Linked DNA regions of Homo sapiens: region 1 is linked to region 2. Evidence: promoter capture Hi-C in human tissues and cell types (Jung and others, 2019). All regions are on one chromosome and are shown on one strand. Each heading gives the region's core, a stretch centred on a gene start or on the middle of the fragment in contact. The rest is flanking DNA. Distances are from core to core; before and after follow the strand shown. Region 1 overlaps ARRB1 (arrestin beta 1). Region 2 holds the start of XRRA1 (X-ray radiation resistance associated 1).

Region 1 (6,901 bases), core at 1,866-4,365, 390 kb before region 2:
GACAAAACAGGGCCAGAGGTTAAGGATCAGAGGCAGCTCCCCAGAAGTAGGGACTCACGACCTGGTTGGAAAGTGCGTTTGTGTGAGCCAGAGGTAGTACTCTTCCTGGCAGTATCTCTGTGACATGTGTTTTCATCCAGGACTGACTTCCTTCAGCAGACTTGAGAAACCTACTATGTGCCGGCATAGTGTCAGGCACTGGTTTCATCTGCTGTCAGTAAGGAGTGTCTTGGGAATGCAGACTGCTTGAGGACAAAAAAACTAGGGTGAAAAGTGAAAGTTCTGCCACAGGGCATCACAGTAAGTGTTTCTGCCTGGAGAAAGAAAATGGGGTGGGTATATCAGGAGACACTGGGCTCAGCAAACCTGCCATTGGAAACCAGGGTCTACTGTCCTGAGGGTATGGAGAGGAAAGCTTCCCTCTAGCCCAGGAGACACTGCAGAGATCTGATGGCTCTTCCCAGAGGAGCCCATGGGCATGAGACAGTTGAGAAACTATGTCTTAGGAGAAACAGCTCCAGGCTTTGGGGCTGGCAGCCAGGGGCCATGTGCGCTGGTCTCTACAGATTGGAGGGCTATCTTTGGGCACACTGAGGCCACGTGGAGTGGTGGAGAGGAGGCAGCAGGCTGGGGTTCTCCCCTCCCCTTTACCAGTAATTGCATGTCTGTAGGCAAGTTTTCCAGCCTCTGGAGATAATGTGTTCATCCTTTCTCGGTTACAGCTGTGCTAATTAAAGCACCCAGCACATTAGCAGGGCTCATCACTGGTTGATGTTATGATGGGTCTCTATTGCCCCAGGGTACTGGGAGAAACCTACAGACGTTTTAAAACTCAATAAGGAGATTTTTTTTTGCAACAGATTTTTTTGACATTCTAAAAATGACAAAAATGATTACACATCATAATCAAGTGATTAATATGCGTTGTCGTTTCTCCCTGCGCTGACTGTTCCACAGCAGCGATTCAGTACAGCAGTGATTCACTGTGCATACTTGAAACAATTCAGCCACCTCTGATGTTCACCATTTGCAGAGTAAACTTTGTAGTAGGGAGAACTTTCAAAGAACCATGACCTGGCCCCACACTGAGCCCTGACCCAGTGTACAGAAAGACCTGAGTTTCTGTACACTGAGGCTCTGGCCTCAACTTCCATTTGAGTGTAGACCTGGATGGGGGTGTGCTGAGCTCCCTGGAGAAGAGAAAACCATGCCTTCCTGTGGGCAGCCCCAGTTCAGGGGATCCAAACTGAATGGTGATAGAGACATGGCTCCCAAAGTACTGTTCTCCTCATTCTACCGCCACTGGCTCAGGTCAAGCCCCACTCCTGGCCTGGATCATTACAATTGTCTTCTAGTTGCTGTCTTTCTGCTCAGTCCCAACCCTCCAAGCCATCCTGTTATTCTGAAATTCACATCTGGTCATTCTTCCCAGCCTAAGGCCTGATCCACTGCTCCCCATGTCCTATGGGAAAGTCCCCATTCTCTAGGTGGCACTGGAGGCCCTTCAGGATCTGTCTCTAATGTCCCTTCCACACTCCTTTCCCAGCTGTCCCCACCACACTGCTAACAACCTGGCTGCATTGACTTTTTTGGATCTTCCTCAACAGTCTTTGTACTTTTCACGCCTCTGTGCCTTTGCTCAAGCCGATCTCTTTAGCTGGAATGCCCTTCTTCCTCTGGTGAAATATTCCTTATATTTTCAGGTTGAACTTAAAAACATTTTAGCCTGGGTGCGGTGGCTCACACCCTTAATCCCAGCACTTTGGGAGGCCGAGGCAGGCGGATCACTTGAGCACCATTGCACTCCAGCCTGGGCAACAGGAGTGAATCTCCGTCTCAAAAAAAAAAAAAAAAAAAAAAAAAAAAAAAGACATTTCAATGAAATTCATTGAACAACTGCACAGGGCACCTGCTGTAGACATGAAGCCCTCCCTTGACTGCTCCCTGCCCAGGTAGAGTGAATGGCCTCTTCCAGGCTCCCTTAGCACTGTGCAGGCTTCCCGGATGGCACTTTACATTGTAGTTGACTGCTAACAAGTCAGTTCCCTCTCTGCTCGAGGGCAAATGTGTATCTCTTGTCTCTTGGACTCCCAGCTCCTGACTGGGGCCTGGCACAGTGTGGGGCCAGACTTGGGTTAGGGAGTGAGTCAGGGAAGATTCCCTGGAGGAAGTGAGCCCCGAGCTGCTGACTTAAAGAAAAAGCACCCTTTCCCTCTTCTTACTTCCTTCCTGGTCCTCGTGCTGAAGGAAAACAGTCAAAACTTTTTTTTTCCTTTTCTGTTTTTCCTTTGAGATAGGATCTTGCTGTGTCATCCAGACTGGAGTGCAGTGGCACGATCATAGCTCACTGCAGCCTCGAAGATTTTTTGTGGAGATGGGGTCTCACTGTGTTGCTCAGGCTGGTCTCAAACTCCTGGGCTCAAGAGATCCTTCTGCCTCAGCCTCCCATAGTGTTGGGATTATAGGTGTGAGCCACTGTGCCTGGTCTGAAACTGACTTTGAAAAGGGAAATGTATGGCTTTTGAATTGAGGGATGGAATCTCCTAGCCTGGAGATAATTAAATAAGGCTTAGATCTCCCTCTCTCCCTTCACGCATTTCCTGAATACCTAGAACATGCCAGACACTGGAGCTACAAAATGAATTAAATAAAACATGTCTATCTTTTTCTATCTCCATAATGTTCATGCTGGAAACTGCCCTTTTTCTGTTTCATTGGATCAAGTTCAAATCTTAGCAGGTCACTTGTAACTCTGACTCTGGGCACATTGTGCCACCTTTCTGAGCCCTAGTTTTCTTATGCATACCACGGAGGTGATAATATTCCCCTCATAGGGTGGTGATGGATCATGTGTGTGAGGGGCTGAACAGGTGCCTTTGACAGTGGTTTCTCATTGAGTGGCAGCCACTCTCCGACTGGAAGTTTCTTGAGGGCAGTGACTATGTTTGGTAGATAAATGTGTCCTTGGCACCCAGCCCAGGGACCAGGCATGCAGTACATGAGGGTCGTCAGCCATCCCAATTTTCCTGGGACAGTCTCAGTCTCGCATCTCAGGAAACCCCTCAGCTCACTCCTGGGCAAATCAGGACTGTGGGTCACCCTACAGTATCTTCTCATAAAGATTCGTAGAGTAGGTATATCCACGAATTAAGCAAGCATTAGTGAAGGACAGGAGTAGGACTTGAACAGGCCAGGGCAAGCACTGGGTGGCTGCCTTGGGCGCTGAGAGGAGTCAGCAGAAGGGTCTGGAAGGCCTAGCATGTGGACAGTGGGAGGTAGGGGTGGGGCCATCTGCAGCTTGGCAGGGTGTGGGGAGGACATCAGGCCCTGAGTCTGTAAGGTGACTGCTTTCAAACAGGTTTCAGGCTCCCAAGGGCCATGTGCTCTTCCTCAGACACATCCAGAGAGGGCACGGTTGATTCTCACTTTTTTGATTTCTATTAAATATATTGAGCCCTCAGCTACTCTTCCGCCTTGGTAGCTGGAGGCCTCTTCTTCCTCAACCTACTGAGTCTCAGCGTGCCTGCCCACTGCCTTCTGAGCTGTCCATGCCAGACTGAGATGAGACAGGGCAGAGGCACGGGCTGCGAGATGGGAGAGCAGGGCTGCAGGCTCATTCTCAGGCCCAGCCCCAGACACTGAGTGAGCCTTGGTTTCTCACAGGGTATCTGTGAGTTGTCACGTGTGGAAAGCCCCTTGGCATCTTTAGTATGCAATAGGTGCACAGCAAGTCTCATGTTTTGTCCCCGTCTATAAAAGGGGGACAATAAAGCTTGCCCTGCTCACCTCCAGGACTGTCGTGTGGGCCAAACGGGATGTGGATGTGGGATGTGGGAACATTTGGTAAACTGTATCATACCCTACAAATGTTTGAGGATGGGGTTCTTAATAGGGCAGCCCTTGCCAGCCCAGGATTCCAGGCCCAGGATTCCAGCCCAGGCATGGAAGGCTCCTCTTGGGGTTGTGCCCCAGGATCACAAAGAAATCTGGCAGTGCTGCCCTTGTGAGCAGCAGACCTCCGCAGGCAGGTCCGAGACTCAGCTGAGCTCTGCTTCTTTTTTTTTTGAGACAGGGACAGGGCCTGGCTCTGTTGCCCAGCCTGGAGTGCAGTAGTGTGATCATAGCTCACTATAGCCTTGACTTCCTGGGCTCACACAATCTTTCCTCCTCAGCCTCCTGAGTAGCTGGGACCACAGGTGTTCGCCACCATCCCAGGCTAATTTTTAAATTTTTTGTACAGATGTGGTTTTGCTACATTGCCCAGGCTGGTCTTGAACTCCTGGGCTCGAGCAATCCTCCCGTCTCAGCCTCCCAAAGTGCTGGGATTACAGGTGTGAGCTACCACGTCCGGCCAAGATCTGCTTCTTCTGAAACCATGGCAAGAGAAAGACAGACAGACTTGGACCTACTGCAGGGAGGGTTAAGTAGCAGCGGGACTCCCATCAAGAAGAAGGAATGTCTTCCGGAGCCTCATCTGTCTGTTGGGCTGGAGGCAGGGCCTTTGTGAAGGCGGGTGGTGCTCAGATCGCCTCTGGGCCCTTCCTCCAGCCCCGAGGCGGATTCACCATGAGGCTGATGCAGCTTCAGCTTCCAGCCCTTCACGCTCCAGGGCCCTTTCCAAGGCCTAGCAATGTGTCCATGTGCTCAGGGGTTTTGTGAAATTTGCAAAAGGAAATTATTTTTGTACTCTTTTTTTTTTAAAACAAACAAACAAACAAAAAAAAAACCTTCCAAGCTCTGTAAGCTTTAGGCGCCCAAGCCCAGCTCTGCCCTGCTGTGGCAAGTTTTCGTTTGGGCTAGGATGTTGGTGCCACATCTGCTGCATGTCCTCAGGGGGCTCTCATCCCACAGCAGAGATCTGTCATAGGTTAGAGCCCTCCCTACAGAAGCAACACCTGAAAGGCATCCAGGGGAGCCAGTTCTGGGGCAGGCTGAACCTGCAGCTTCACTTGCCATGTAAATTAGAGACTGGAAAGGCTTCTCTGACTTCAATCTTCCTCTTCTGCAAAATGGAGATAAGACCTTCCTGGAAAGGTTAAAATAATGAACCATAGGTGAAACTGCCTGGTCTAGCCCCAGGCTTGTCCTGGGAGCTCAGGAAATGCTGATGAAAGCTGGATGGAGATGGCTCAGGGGAGCCCATGCCTTTCATTGGGATAGTCTGTCCTGCTGTCTGTCAAATTAACCTGCTGTGTGCCAGGCCTGGTATTAGGCTCTGGGATACAAGCTGCTGGGGTGAGGTGGTCAGACGAATCAAGAGGGTGAAAGTGGTTATAAACTGTGGAGCACGGCTTGCCTGGGAAGGGGCTGTTGTAACCGGGATGGGGCCTTTTTTTTTTTTTTTTTTTTGTTTGAGACGGAGTCTTGCCCTGTCACCCAGGCTGGAGTGCAGTGGTGCTATCTCAGCCCGGGTTCAAGCAACTCTCCTGCCTTGAGTAGCTGGGATAATAGGCACATGCCACCACGCCCAGCTAATTTTTGTATTTTTAGTATAGATGAGGTTTCACCATGTTGGTCAGGCTGGTCTTGAACTTCTGACCTTGTGGTCTGCCCACCTGGGCCTCCCAAAGTGCTGGGATTACAAGCGTGAGCCACCGCGCCCGGCCTGGGATGGGACCTTCTGTGGGAGTGGGGCAGAGTAGAAGTCTGGACAGGCCTTTCCTGCTCCTGGGACTGGGTCAGGAGTCTGGCTGGTCTGGTGCCTGAGGGGAGCTGCCAGGGCAGGCCGAGCTGACCTTTCCTGCTCAGAAAGGAAGCCAGGCTGGCAGGGTGCGGTGCATCCCTCTGCAGAGTCAGGGAAGCGGAGTTTGTTGGCAGCAATGTCTTGCCTTCTGTGCTTCCCTAAGACAGGTGGCTGTGGGGAGGGCTTCGAAGAACAAACATGATGTCCGGCTAGGTTTCAGATCCCACCCCTACTGCTTGTTATGCCTGTGACCTAGAGACGGTTACATAATCTTTCTGAACCTTGGTTTTGTCATCTTTAAAATGGGGGTAATAAAATCCTCTCCTCACCCCCATAGGGTTGTGGTAAGGCTTAAATGAGATAATGCATGGCTTAACACAGTGCCTGGTACACAGTAGGTGCTCAATACATGCTGATTGTCCCTCTCCTGCCCCATGACCCTCATCAACTTCTCTTTTACACTTCCCCGTTTGTCTGTGCCCCCAGTTGGGTGTGGGCTCCGTGGTGGCAAGGACTGATTTTTGTTCACCAATCATTCTATTCCCCAGCCCTGGCACAATGCCTTCAATACACCCTGAACTGGTTGGCAAGAAGCTGCACTGGGCCCAAAGAAAACAGTGTTAAGTTTTAGCTGGAAACCTGCTTACAACACACCTACTGTGTGCTCCTGCCAGAGCACTTACTGTATGGTTTCTGCCCTGCAGAGCTTGAATGGCCACCCACAACTGTGGCTCTGCCCTTCTTGACAAGTGGCTTTGTTTTTTTCTTCAGAGCACTTAGCACCTGCTGTAATCAATTTGGTGAGCGTTGTTGAGTCAAACTCTGTAAAATATTTGAAGATATTTATTCTGAGCCAAATATGAGTGACCGTGGCCTGTGACACAGCCCTCAGGAGGTCTTGAGAACATGTGCCCAAGGTGGTCGGGGTACAACTTGGTTTTATATATTTTAGGAGGCATGAGACATCAATCAAATACATTTAAGGAATACATTGGTTTGGTTCAGAAAGGTGGGACAACTCAAAGCGGTGGGCAGGGGTTGGGGGGAGCTTCCAGGCTATAGGTACATTTTTTTTTTTGAGATGGAGTCTCACTCTGTCGCCCAGGCCAGAGTGCAGTGGCGCGATCTCAGCTTACTGCAACCTCCGCCTCCCGGGTTCAAGTGATTCTCCTGCCTCAGCCTCCTGAGTAGCTGGGACTACAGGTGCGCCTGACCACA
Region 2 (6,952 bases), core at 1,974-4,473:
GGCTTTTATTAGGTAGGTGCAAAAGTTATCGTGGTTTTTGCCATTACTTTCAATGGCAAAAACAGCAATTACTTTTGCACCAACCTAATAACATGCGGCACTAGAACTCAAATTTGTCTCTTTTTATTATATATTATACACTACTGTGTATACGGCCTTATTAAGAAGTCTTCTAATTTCTGTCTCTCCAAACCATCTGAATAGTTTTCCTAAAAACCACTTTACACAGTCTCAAAACCCTTCAACAGCTTTCCTCTACTTCAAGCAATCCACGGCCTCCCTAATCAGATGCTATCTACTTGTCACTACAGTTCCTTTAGAGAGCCTTCTAGTCAACTCAATACCTGAGAAACATAAAACACCATCACATCTGTGTAACTTTACTCAAGGAGACTTTTTTACCTGGCATGTCTTTCTTTTCTCCCCCCAAATAAGGTGCCAGTTCCACTTTCAGGAATGAGGCCTTTCCTTCAGGCTCTTACTCTTTTTTTTTTTTTTTTTTTGAGACAGAGTTTCCCTCTTGTTGCCCAGGCTGGACTGCAATGGCGTGATCTCGGCTCACTGCAACCTCCACCTCCCGGGTTCAAGCGATTCTCCTGCCTCAGCCTCCCGAGTAGGTGGGATTACAGGCATGCACCACCACACTTCGCTAATTTTGTATTTTTAGTAGAGATGGGGTTTCTCCATCTTGGTCTGGCTGGTCTTGAACTTCCGACCTCAGGTGATCCGCCTGCCTTGGCCTCTCAAAGTGCTGGGTTTACAGGTGTGAGCCACTGCGCCCGGCCGAGGCTCTTACTCTTATCAATAAGCTCGCAGGGTTCACTCTATTTCTCTCATTTGAACTTCCGTAACAAGTACACACTTGAGCGAATATACCATATACTTCCTTAAATAGATTCAATTACCCCATCTCCTATATTTGGCTATTCTGAGTGCTCTCTGACAGTAGGATTCTTGATTTACTCCTCCACCATCACACATCTGTACTGGACACTACAGGTAATGGAGATCATTAATGTGTACTGTCTTACTTGGTTCTTCCCAAAACCCTGTGATCTAGGTGCCAGAGATTCCAAAATTCCAAATGAAGAAAGGTTAAGTGACTTGCCAATCTTCATACTGTTAGCAAGTAGCAGAAATACTTCAAAGCTGAAATCTTATGATCCCCACATCCGGGTTCTTTCAATAACACAATGGTGCCATATACACTATTCCATAATAATAGTATTCTATACTGCCTTAGCAGAATGCCCATACTTAATGTTTGCTGATGATGATCCAAGTGCAAGGAAGAGCAAGAGCAGTTAGTGGGGCAGGTAAGCACAGGCTATGAGGTGCTTACCTAGCAAGAGGGAAGGATTTGTGTACACAAATGACCATCAATTCCCCATACTCTCACATGTCTTGAAGCAATTTACCATCCCAACCTCCAGAATATGTTTCTGTATCTTAAGGTTTGAGTGTGAGGCCAGGTGCATGGTGACTTATGCCTGTAATCCCAGCACTTTGGGGAGCCAAGGTGGGAGGATCTCTTGAGGCCCAGGAATTTGAGACCAGCCAGGGCAACACAGTAAGACCCTGACTCTACAGAAAAGTTAAAAGCAAAAAAATTAGTCAGGCATAGTGGTGCACATTTGCAGTCCCAGCTACTCAGGAAGCTGGGGTGGGAAGATCACCTAAGCTTAAGAGTTCAAGGCCGCAGTGAGCTAAGATCCATTCTGGGCAATGGAGCGTGACCCCTCTCACAAGAGAAGAGTGTGAGAACCATGTCTTTCAAAACCAATGACACTCAAAAAGACAAGTAAAAAGACCTGGATCTTAACCCCTCAACATAATCATGTTTTCATTTCTTAAGCACCTACCATGTGTTATGCACAGGGAAGTCTGAAAGCTGTTTTCAATTATATTCAAAAATTCTGCTTACTATATTAAAGACACCATGCTTAACAATTCTCATCAAACCAGCCCAGGGCCCTACAATGAGAGAACTGGAAGGGAATTTAGAGTTAAGTCCCTCATTTTAAGGCTAAATCTCTCACTTTGCAGATGAGAAAACAGATATAGAGAGAGCAAGCATATTTCAAGGTCACAAAGCTAATTAGAGGCAAAATCAACACCAGGACGTTGTTCTCCGTGCAACTGTTTCTTCCAAGATGCTGTGCAAAGAGCAAGAAAGGCCAACCCAGGGACAGTTTTCCTTTTTTTCTTTTCTTTTAAACCCTTGTTGCTAGGACTGCAGTTAAAAAAAATTTTTTTGGATGAGCAGAGGGAGGAAAGGGGCAAGCGTGAGCGGGCAGCAGTGCACTTGGTAGCAAAGAGGGAGGTGGAGGGAAGAGAGGAGAGGGCGGGGAAAAACAACAGGAAAAAAAGAAAAATCTTAAAGGCTTCTTGTCAGCCCAGTAGAACAGTCAATACTCAAATATTTTCAGTATTCGCCTATCATGATAAAACGCCTAAAAACTTCAGTAAGCAAAAGGACAAGAAGCACTTTGGAATCTGTAGCAGCACGCAAGGGTGATGGTGGTAGAGAGTTTGGGGGATACTGATTCTTTAATCTTTGGGCTTCGGTTTTCCGTGTCTGTGAAATGGGCACTGACAACAGTGCACCCAGCCCCCCAGGAGAAAAGAGATGGACACGATTAAATATAGGAAAAATCAAATTACCGAAAAAGGTGTGGCGACCAGGACCAGAACACTTGCGAGAAAAGAAGAAGTTCTAAAGAGGACCGGGTCCAGGTTTGAAGTGTGATGAGGGCAAGGGCAGGCTCCAAGCGTGCGTAGGGTTGTGATAGTGGTCACACAAGGGCTCCCCTCAAAAGGCCGTAGAAAATAAGGGAGACCGGGATGGGAAGGTTGGCTCGCCGCCTCCCAGGCCTCCCCAGGATTCAACTGTTCCCAAGAACCGGCTCCTCACCTTATCCAACAAGCCGCTACGGCCACTTCCTGTCCCGCAGTTGGAAGCACCACCAGCCCCACTACAGCCTCCGCTACCACCGCTTCTCCCGCCCTGTACAGCTGCCGCCGCCATCTTGTCCGCCTCTGCGTCTCCCTCCCCTCCGACTTGTCTGAAGCCGATTGGCTGGAGCTGACAGCGTGACGCGCCGCGCGGAGTCAATCGGGATCCGTAGTTTGGGTCTTGCTGGCGCGAGGTAGTCAGAGGACGTGGCCGCGGGGCTTGCTGGGACTTGAGGTTAGACGTCCCGGCCGTCGGTTGCCGCCTACACTGTCTGCCGTCGCGTCGCAGTTACTAAGGCGTGGGGAAGATAGCGGCAGGCACCGCAGTGGAGCGGCTCCGAGATCCCCGGGGGGCTCGCAGGCGCGCATCCCTCCTGACTGGGACGTCGCCTCCGCAGACCCCTCGGAGGCTGAAGCGACGCCGGAGGCAGGTGCGACTGAAACTTAGTTTTCGAATTCGAGTCTTTCTCCGGCCCAGGTGTGGAGTTTCCAAAGGAGTGGGCAGGAGCTTGTCCTTCATCCTTTTCTAGCCCGGTTGTGGCACTTACCGATTATTCTCTCAAGCAGCTGTCATTTTAGCTGTTTGTAATGTTTTCGTGTTAACGGAGAACTCGCGTTTACTGAGTGCCTACAGTCTGCCAGGCAGTATCCTATGTGCACTTCCAGCCATCCTCTCTCTCACTGAGTCCCACAACAGCCCTGTTAGATGAGGAGGAAACTAAAGAACCTACCCAAAGCCAGATAGCATGTATCTGAACTCGGTTTTCAAGCCGGCATTTAAAAAAAATCAAAACCAATATATATCCCTTCTGACACTCTGCTTTTACGGTTTTAGGATGTAATAGTATTCTAGATTTTAATTATTTTTTTCACAAATGTATATTGAGCACCAATATTGTACTAACGGATACAGGGGATCAAGATAGACCTGGTTGCTACTCTGGTGGACTACTACTCCATGACAGAGTTATCAAATAGCAGTATTGTATTATACCATGCTCTATTACGTTGTATTTTAATTAATTTTTTTCACAAATGTATATTGAGCACCAATATTGTACTAACGGATACAGGGGATCAAGATAGACCTGGTTGCTACTCTGGTGGAACTACTACTCCATGACAGAGTTATCAAATAGCAGTATTGTATTATACCATGCTCTATTACGTTGTATTGTTTTTTAATTCCTATATATCCCCCATAAGCGTCTAAAGAATTAAACAAATATTTTTGAGTTTCTTACTATGTAACAGGCACTATTCTAGTCACCAGGGATATATCCCTGAATAAAACAGACAAAAACTTGTCTTGGGGAAGCCAAAATTCATGTGAAAATAATTATCTCGGCCGGGCGTGGGGGCTCATGGTTGTAATCCCCGCCAAGGCAGGCGGATCACCTGAGGTCAGGAGTTAAAGACCAGCCTGGCCAACATGGTGAAACCCCGTCTCTACTAAAAATACAAAAATGAGCCGGGCGTGGTAGCGGGCACCTGTAATCCCAGCTACTTGGGAGGCTGAGGCAGGAGAATTGCTTGAACCGGGGAGGCGGAGGTTGCAGTGAGCCGAGATCAGAAAGAAAAGAAAATAATTATCACTAAATAACTAAATTATTACTAAAAAGAAAATAAATATCACTAAATAGCAATAACATCAGATGATATTTCATTACCTCTGTGAAGCAATCCGTGGACACTAGTCAGATCCCCTGTAGCTTGTTGTTGCAGTTTATCTTTTACAACTTCTCATTTTTCTTTTATTTAAAATAAAGTGAGATGATACAGCATTGCCCTAGTCACTTTTTATTTTATTTTTTATTTTTTGAGACAGAGTCTCACTCTGTCACCCAGGCTGGAGTGCAGTGGTGGGATCTTGGCTCACTGCAACCTCTGCCTCCTGGGTTCAAGCAGTTCTTGTGCCTCAGCCTCCCAAGCTGTAGTCTTTGTAGCTGGGACTACAGGCACATGCCACCACACCTGGCTAATTTTTATATTTTTAGTAGAGACAGGATTTCGCCGTGTTGGACAGCCTAGTCTTGAACTCATGACCTCAAGTGATCCGTCTGCTTCGGCCTCCCAAAGTGCTGGGATTACAGGCATGAACCACCACACCAGGCCAACTTCTCATCTTTCAAGATCCAGCTTTAATGTCACCTACCCTGTGAAACTATTTCTGATACTTGCTTCTTCTTTCTTCACCCACTGCATGAAGTGCTCCTGTGGCATTTTGTTCATGGGTTGGGTTAGTTCAATTAACAATCATTGAGACTCTTCCTTCAGTAGGCCAGGTCCTGTGTGAGATGCAGGATAAAGAGATAAGTACAGGCTCACGCCTGTAATCCCAGCACTTTGGGAGGCCGAGGCGGGCGGATCACGAGGTCAGGAGATCAAGACCATCATGGCTAACATGTTGAAACCCCGTCTCTACTAAAAATACAAAAAATTACCCAGGCATGGTGGCGGGCGCCTGTAGTCCCAGCTTCTAGGGAGGCTGAGGCAGGAGAATGGCGTGAGCCCGGGAGGCGGAGCTTGCAGTGAGCTGAGATAGCGACACTGCACTCCAGCCTGGGTGACAGAGCAAGACTCCGTCTCAAAAAAAAAAAAAAAGAAAAAGAGGTAAGTAGGACCCAGGCCTGACCTGACCTTGGAGATACTCACAGCCTGTAGTGAGGTGGGGAACAAACAAGGAAGCAGGCATTATAATACAGTGTGGTATAGTGCCTGTATTAGTCCATTTTCACACTGCTATAAAGAACTGCTCAAGACTGGGTAATTTATAAAGGAAAGAGGTTTAATTGACTCACGGTTCTGCATGGCTGGGGAGGCCTCAGGAAATTTACAATCATGGCGGAAAGGGAAGAGGCAAGTCTTACATGGCAACAGGCAAGAGAGGGCAAGAGTGTGAAGGAGGAACTGTCAGTTATAAAACCATCAGATCTCGTGAGAGCTCACTCACTATGGTGAGGACAGCATGGGGGACCACCTCCTTGATCCAATCACTTCCTACTAGGTCTCTCTCTCAACACATGGGGATTATGGGGATTACAATTCAAGATGAGATTTGGGTGGGGACACAAAGCCTAACCATGTTAGTGCCTCCATTAAGAAGTGGGCCTGATGGCTGGGCAAGGGGGTTCACGCCTGTAATCCCAACACTTTGAGAGGCTGAGTTGGGAGTTTGAGGCAGCCTGGGCAACATGGTGAAAACCCATCTCTATCAAAAATATAGAAATTTAGCTGGGCATGGTAGCACACGTCTGTGGTCCAGCTACTTGGGAGGCTAAGGTGGGAGGATTGCTTGAGTCTGGGAGGTGGAGGTTGCAGTGAGCTGAGATCATGCCACTGCACTCCAGCCTGGGTAACAGAGTGAGACCTTGTCTCAAGAAAAAAAGAAAAAATAAATAAAAAAAGAAGTGGGCTTGAGGAGGCTCAGCCTAAGGAGAGGGAGATACAGGAAAGCTAATCTGTATGTAGCCGGGCAAGGAAGAGGGGCAGAAATGTGATAGGCCAAAGGAATGGAACAAGCAAAAATATGCCTTACTCTGTGTGTGTGTGTGTGAGAGAGAGAGAAAGAGAGATGTTTGTTTTGGAGGAAGCGCTACAGTCAGATTGGCATTAGCTGCATCAAGTTTGAGATGGAGACCAGAGGTAACTAAAGCTAACCAGGAAGTCAGCCTCCAAATCTGGAACTTTGACTTTTTTTTCTACCATATAAAGATCTTACTTGTCTTAGATAATGTAACCAGGGGTTATGTGCCCTTCTTGGCCCATTAGTTGTAGATCTACACCTTCTCACCTAATATTCCTAATAGGGAACTAGAATTTCTGCGATAGCATCCAGGTCTGCATGCCTCCTACAGGCTTCAGTGTGAGTCATCTTTTGTATTATATGCATGGCAAATATCTTTTCCCAGACTGTGTCTTATCTTTCAACTTTGACTTTCCTATTTTTATCTGGCAGAAATTTATTTTGTGTAAATAATCATGTAAACGATCCCGT

The links. Contacts are between HindIII fragments. The study calls those that stand out against the background at their distance.
Region 1: a fragment that was not itself captured here is called in contact with the fragment with the promoter of XRRA1 in region 2 in 1 of the 25 tissues and cell types used here (dorsolateral prefrontal cortex).

Annotation. Positions count from the first base shown.
Region 1 is chr11:75,332,755-75,339,655 of GRCh38, reverse strand. The region is part of intron 1 of ARRB1 (arrestin beta 1); the gene reads left to right. MIR326 (microRNA 326) reads left to right here and starts at 4,470; the gene lies at 4,470-4,564. RefSeq lists enhancers at 3,898-4,431, 4,432-4,966, 6,035-6,568. The HindIII fragment of the contact is 5,978 bases long and covers 127-6,104 here.
Region 2 is chr11:74,945,362-74,952,313 of GRCh38, reverse strand. It overlaps XRRA1 (X-ray radiation resistance associated 1), which reads left to right and starts at 3,223. Exons shown (of 19, transcript NM_001378157.1): 1 at 3,223-3,386. SPCS2 (signal peptidase complex subunit 2) reads right to left here and starts at 3,048. Exons shown (of 5, transcript NM_014752.3): 1 at 2,915-3,048. The coding sequence starts at 3,028. RefSeq lists enhancers at 2,794-2,843, 2,146-3,000, 2,924-3,143, 3,274-3,333, 3,454-3,503 and 1 more. The HindIII fragment of the contact is 13,977 bases long and covers 1-6,952 here.